Linked DNA regions of Homo sapiens: region 2 is linked to region 1. The links are contacts of gene promoters, found by promoter capture Hi-C in blood cells and fetal thymus (Javierre and others, 2016). All regions are on one chromosome and are shown on one strand. The core of a region is centred on a gene start or on the middle of the fragment in contact, and the rest is flanking DNA. Distances in the headings are between cores, read along the strand shown. Region 1 holds the start of PLCG1 (phospholipase C gamma 1). Region 2 has its middle 55 kb from the start of TOP1.

The links. Contacts are between HindIII fragments. The CHiCAGO score rates a contact against its expected background, and 5 or more counts as called.
Region 2: a fragment that was not itself captured here is called in contact with the fragment with the promoter of PLCG1 in region 1 in 12 of 17 cell types (activated CD4 T cells, naive CD8 T cells, non-activated CD4 T cells and 9 more); the score reaches 17.7 in activated CD4 T cells.

Annotation. Positions count from the first base shown.
Region 1 is chr20:41,135,462-41,138,792 of GRCh38, reverse strand. It overlaps PLCG1 (phospholipase C gamma 1), which reads right to left and starts at 1,250. Exons shown (of 32, transcript NM_002660.3): 1 at 935-1,250. The coding sequence starts at 1,151. It overlaps LOC124904903 (translation initiation factor IF-2-like), which reads left to right and starts at 1,280. Exons shown (of 2, transcript XM_047440629.1): 1 at 1,280-3,091. The coding sequence starts at 1,454. The coding sequence ends at 2,035. PLCG1-AS1 (PLCG1 antisense RNA 1) reads left to right here and starts at 793. Exons shown (of 7, transcript NR_109889.1): 1 at 793-1,079; 2 at 2,982-3,091. RefSeq lists enhancers at 133-212, 361-460, 382-1,166, 1,951-2,735 and silencers at 611-870, 991-1,980. The HindIII fragment of the contact is 8,103 bases long and covers 1-2,292 here.
Region 2 is chr20:40,972,281-40,975,654 of GRCh38, reverse strand. No RefSeq gene overlaps it. Among named protein-coding and RNA genes, the nearest start is that of TOP1, 55 kb to the left of the region's middle. The HindIII fragment of the contact is 3,198 bases long and covers 430-3,374 here.

The sequences.
Region 1 (3,331 bases), core at 1-2,500:
CCCACTAGAGACCAGCGCAAAAGCAGCCAAGCTCAGGCCTGGGAAGGCGAAAAGGCAGGAAACTAAGAGAAGCCGCTCCCGCTCCCTGAAGCCACCGGACAGAGGACAAAGGGCTAGACTCACAAACTAGCTGCACTCCTGAGAAGAATACCTGACTCCAAGGCGCTGGGGCAGGCCTTTATGGGGCCCATCTCCTGGGAACGTGCTTCCCAGGGCAAGGGGAGTCCCTGCCCTGGCATTGAGTGTCTGCCCACCCACATAGGCCTCCAAAACCCAGCTTTGGGACAAAAGTAGCAGAAAAAAAAAAAAAAAAATTCCAGCCACTGGCTTCTCTCAGGCTTCTCCAAACCAAACAAGACCACCTTCCTCCCTCTCCCCCAGAGGGAGATGAGTAGGCCCAGCTCTGCTCCAAGACCAGCCCTACCCAACATCTGCCTAAGTTCTACTTAGGGAACCCAAAGATTCCTTTGCAAATAAGAGCCCAGCCTGGGGGCCCGGAGAGTTTCACAGACTGCTCTTTCTGGATAAAGAGTGGGCGGGGACCGTCTGGTCAGGCCCCAGGTTCCCGTGCAGGGTGGGGGCCACTGCCTTAGCTCCCCTCGCCGACGCCGCCACCACTCCCAGGGTCTGGGGGGCCCGATGCCTGCACCGCAGGTCTCCAGCCCGCGAGGATTTTTAGGCCTCAGGGCAAAGCGCCTGGAACACTCCCCCCAGCTGGGGGAGGGGGGGTGTCCTGTCAGGTGACCGAGGACCCGGATGCCCCCCGCCCCCAGTGACCACCCGAGACGAAGCGGGGGCGGGGCCCGGAGGGAGTCTGGGAGGGCCCGAAAGTTTGCCCAAGTCGCTGGGGCGGCCGGCCGGGGTGCAAGCAGTCGGGCCGGGCTCCCACGACCCCCGCGCGGGGCGGGCCCAGGCAGGAAGTGGGCGCACTTACTGGCCCCCTCGATCTTGTCGGCGCCCCGGCTCCACGTGATCTGGCGCGTCTCCAGCTTGACCTGGAAGGTCTTCCGCTCGGGTCGCTGCGACTTCTTGGAGTAGAACAAAGTCATGACGGTGCCCACCTCGAGGCTGCGGCAGAGGTGCAGCACCTCGGCGTCCGAGGGCGCGCCGGGCCCGCAGCCGTTGGCGCAAGGGGACGCGGCGCCCGCCATGGCTCCGACGCTGGGGGCGGCGGCGGCACAGGCCAGGACCGCCCGGGAGCAAGCGCAACGGCGGCGGCTGAGGTTGGGGCTGAGGCTGAGGCGGCAGACGAGCGGGACCCGGCGGCGGCTCCTGCAGGCGGACACGGGGCGGGGCCTCAGCGCGGCGGGGCGGGGCTGCCCTGAGGCCCCACCCCGCTTCGGCGCCGGGAACAAAGGCGCCCGCGCACCCGTGGGGAGGACCCCCGCCCGTCGGCCCGCCGCGCCTGCGCCCCGCGACCCCCAGACAGGCCGCAGGCGGGGACGGAGGCGCGATGGCGGCGGGAGCGCGCGCCGTTCCCGGTCGACCCACCCAGCCCTCAGTCCCGCAGAGCTTTCTCACGCGGCCCCGGACACAGCCCGGCGGCCACGAGCGGCCCTGTCACGCACGGCAGCCCCGCCCACAGGCCGCAGGCCCGGCGGCCGGCGCGTCAGTCAGGCGTACTCGCACGGGCGGCCGCTACCCCGCGGTCCCGCACAGACGCAGCCCCCGCGTCCCGAACACCGCCCATGCAGCGACCGGGACGGGACGTGAGGGGATGGCGCGTCCTCCGGGAATGCCCGGCCAAACTCAGTTACCTGGGCGGGCTTCCCGGACAAGGGAGCCAGGACGGGCCGCCTCACACCGGCGGCGGCGGGTCCTCCGCGCGCCCTCTCCCGGGAGGGGCGGGGGCGGGGCTGCCTGCGGATTGGTCGCGGGCACTGATGGACAGCCGACATGTCCCGCCCCCCCGGCAGCGCGGGGCTGGTCCGCAGGCAGTTCTGGCGACGGCCAGACCCACGTCTGTCTGTTCCGCCCCTGCTGCCAGGGTGGCTTTCAGTGGTCCTCTCTTTCGGAGAGTTCCCCCCAAGCGTGAGCACCCCTTACAGGGGCGTTAGGTCCGCGGCCGCGCTGTCCAGTGGTCTGACCTGCAGCTCCCAGGGCCTTTGTGTCTGTCCCTCGCATGGGCCTCTGCACGCTCCGTCCCCACGCGACAGGACTCGAGTCCGATTCGGGGCTCCGACTCAGACCCTACCCCGCAGCGCCCTCCTGCAAATGCTCTCCTGAACTTTGGTTTTCCCCGCCTTGCTTTCTTCCTCCTCCTGTAGCCGCTGCCTCTCGATCTCAGAAGCTTCTCTTCCTCTGCACTCAGTGCTAGGCCAGATCCCAAGGCGACCTGACCTTTCCCCTGGCTTTGCCCAACAACACAGGCACCGGTGACTCCAAACCTGCATCTCCCCTACGTTCCAGGCCCCAGCATCCCACTGCATGTTCCACATCCCCCCCCCTTAGACAGCTCGCCTTCCCTCCCCAAACGATTCCTTCCACAGTCTTCACTTTCTCAGAACGCGGCGCTAAACTTCTCTAAGTTGGAAGGTCAAAAACCTTGCAGCTAACTTTGATTCCTCCCTTTGCCTCACCTCCAATCCATCAAGACCTTGTCACTCAGCCCACAAGCTGAAGGCCCCATCTCCTGTCACCCAGACTACTCACCTTGTTTGGTTTTGCCTGGATCTATCAGTTTGGTTTTGCCTGGATTTATCATGCTTTAAATCTTTAAAATGAAATTAAATCATGATCCCCTACATCCAGGCTAAAACCCTCCGTGAATTCCCATTGCACCTAAAATCCACACTCCCTGCTTGGCCTAGCAGGTTCTATATGACCTGCCCATCTCACCAGTTTCATCTCTCACAAGTGATCCTTCACTCTCCATTCTCCAGCCACAAGGCCTTTTTCTGGTTATGGAATATAATTCATACTCTTTGTCTTTCTGAAGCCATTCTTGAAACTCACCCCTGCAATCTATCTACCCTTGTCAGCACCGCCAAAATTGAGGACACCCACGGTCGCGGTGGAGCCTGTCTGACATGTTGAGCCAGGCAGTGGGTCGGCTGCCAGGCACAGCAGGACAACTTACTGCATTTCAGAGGTGAGAAGCCCAACAGAGCTTCCAGCTGATGCCAGAGAAAGAGCCAGGCTTCCTGGGAATTGTGAGATAGTAGGACTAGACTAGAGTTTGTAAGAGCGTGTGCTCAGGCAACCCACTCAGCTGGATAGTGACCTGGGGCTGCTGCTTCTGACTTTGTCTTGCTGTAGTGGAAACTTGTGTGTTAACGTTGATTTCCTCAAGTGCGTCCCCTAAGAAGCTCAGAATTCAGCATGACATTGA
Region 2 (3,374 bases), core at 779-3,278, 160 kb after region 1:
TGATAGCAAAACCAGACAAAGACACATCAAAACAAACAAACAAACAACAACAACAAAAAACAAAAACTACAGGCCAATATCCCTGATGAATTTTAATGCAAAAATCCTCAACAAAATACTAGCAACCAAAATTGAACAACACATTAAAAAGATCATTCCTTATGACTAAGTAGGATTTATCCCAGTGATGCAAAGATGGTTGAACATATGCAAATAAATCAATGTGGTACATCATGTCACAGAATGAAGGACAAAAATCATAAGATCATTTCAATTGATGCTGAAAAAGCATTTGATAAAATTCAACAGCCCTTCATGATAAAAACCCTCAAAAAACCTGGGTATAGAAGGACATACCTCAACATAATAAAACCCATATACAACAGACCCATAGCTAGTACCATACTGAATGGGGAAAAACTGAAAGCTTTTCCTCTAGGATCTGAAGCACTACAAGGATGGCCACTTTCATCACTGTTATTCAACATAGTACTGGAAATCCTATCTAGAACAATCAGACAGGAGAAAGAAATAAAGGGCATCGAAATTGGAAAGAAAGAATTCAGATTATCTTTGTTTTCAGATTATATAATCTTTATATTTGAAAAAATCCAATGACTCCACCAAAAAATTATTAGAACTGATAAACAAATTCAATAAGGCTGCAGGATACAAAAACAACATACCAAAGTCAGTACCATTTCTATTTGCCAACAGCGAACAACCTGAAAAAGAATTCAAGAAATTAATCCCATTTACAATTGCCACGAATAAAATAAAATACCTGGGAATTAACTTAACCAAAGAGGTGAAAGATCTCTACAATTAAAATGATAAAACAGTGGTGAAAGAAACTGAAGAGGACACAAGGAAATGGAAAGATATTTCATATTCATGGATTAGAAGAATCAATATTGTTAAAATGTCCTTACTACCCAAAGGAATCTACAGATTCAATGCAATCCCTATCAAAACACCAATGACATTCTTCACAGAAATAGAATAAACAATCCTAAAATTTATATGGAACCACAAAAGACCCAGAATAGCCAAAGCGATCCTGAGCGAAAAGAACAAAACTGGAAGAATCACATTACCTGCCTTCAAATTATATTACATAGCTATAGGAACCAAAACAGCATAGTACTGGCATAAAAACAGACACATGCACTAGTAGAGCAGAATAGAGAACTCCCGAATGAATCCATATATCTAGGGTGAACTCATTTTTGGCAAAGGTACCAATAACATACATTGGGGAAAGGACATTCTCTTCAATAAATGGTGCTGGGAAAAGTGGATATCCACATGCAGGAGAATGATACTAGACTCCTATCTTTCACCACATAGAAAAATCAAATCCAAATTGATTAAAGACTTAAATGTAAGACCTCAAACTATGAAACCACAAAAAGAAAACACTGAGGAAACCCTCCAGGACATTGGAGAGGTAAAGGATTTCTTGAGTAATAATAACCCACAAGCACAGGCAACTAAAGCAAAAATGGACAAATGGGATCACACCAAGTTAAAAAAAACTTCTACACAGCAAAGGAAACAATCAACAAGTGAAGAGAAACCCACAGAATCACAGAATCATAGAATCCCATAGAATCATAGACAACCCATAGAATCATAGAATCACAGAATGAAGGACAAAAATCATAAGATCATTTCAATTGATGCTGAAAAACCATTTGATAAAATTCAACAGCCTTCATGATAAAAAAAACCCTCAAAAAACCTCCCATAGAATGGGAGAAAATATTGGCAAACTACCCATCTGACAAGGGACTAATAACAGAATATATAAGGAGCTCAAATAACTCTATAGGAAAAAACCTAATAATTCTATTAAAAATGGGCAAAATATCTGAATAGACATTTCCCAAATGAAGACATATAAATAGCACACAGGTATATGAAAAGGTGCTCAAAGTCATTGATCATTAGAGAAATGCCAATCAAAACTACAATGAGTTATCATGTCACCCCAGTTAAAATGGCTTTTATCCCAAAGACAGGGAATAACAAATGCTGGTGAGGATGTGGAGAAAAGGGAACTCTTGTACACTGCTGGTGGGAATGTTAATTAGTACAACCACTATGGAGAACAAGTTGGAGGTTCCTCAAAAAACTAAAAATAGAGCTACCGTACAATCCAGCAATCCCACTGCTGGGTATATACCCAAAACAAAGGAAATCAGTATATCAAAGAGATATTTGCACTCTCATGTTTACTGCAGCACTATTCACAATAGTCAAGATTTGGAAGCAATCCATCAACAGATGAGTGGATAAAGAAAATGTGGTGCATATACACAATGGAATACTATTCAGTCATAAAAAGAATGGTATCCTGTCATTTGCAACAACATGGTTGGAACTGGAAGTCATTATGTTAAGTGAAATAAGCTAGGCACAGAAAGACAAACTTCGGGCTAGGTGCGGTGGCTCATGCCTGTAATCCCAGCACTTTGGAAGGCCGAGGCTTCCAAAGTGGATCATTTGGATCATTTGAGGTTAAGAGTTCAAGACCAGCCTGGGCAACATGGTGAAACCCCATCTCTACTAAAAATAAAAAAAAACTAGTTGGGTTCAGGAGCGCGTGCCTGTAATCCCAGCTACTCTGGAGGCTGAGGCAGGAGAACCGCTGAAGCCTGGGAGGCGGAGGTTGCAGTGAGCCAAGATTATGCCATTGTACTCCAGCCTGGCAACACAGTGAGAGACTCTGCTGCAAAAAAAAAAAAAAAAAAAAAAAAAAAAAAGACTGCATGTTTTTGCTTATTTGTAGGAGCTAAACATTAAGATGATTGAATTCATGGAGACACAGAGTAGAAGGATGGTTAATGGGTACAAAAAATTAGGAAGAATGAATAAGACCTACTATTTGCTAGCACAACAGGGTGACTATCATAAAAAATAGTTGTACATTTAAAAATAACTAAAAGAGTAATTGGATTGTTTGTAACACAAAGGATAAACGCTTGAGGTGATGGATACTCCATTTACCCTGATCTGACGATTACACATTGTGTGCCTCTATCAAAATATCTCTGTAAGCCACAAATATTAATATATACACTTATGGCCCGGTGCAGTGGCTCACGCCTGTAATCCCAGCACTTTGAGAGGCCAAGGCAGGAGCATTACGTGAGCCCAGGAGTTCGAGACCAGCCTGCAATATAGTGAGACCTTGTCTCTACACAAAAAAACCTTAAAAAATAAGCTGGGCATGGTGGTGTGCACCTGTGGTCCCAGCTTGGGAGCTTTGGCAGGAGGATCCCTTAAGCCCAGGAGGCAGAGGTTGCAGCGAGCTGAGATTGCGCCACTGCACAACCGCCTGGGCAACAGAGTGAAACTCTGTCTCAAAA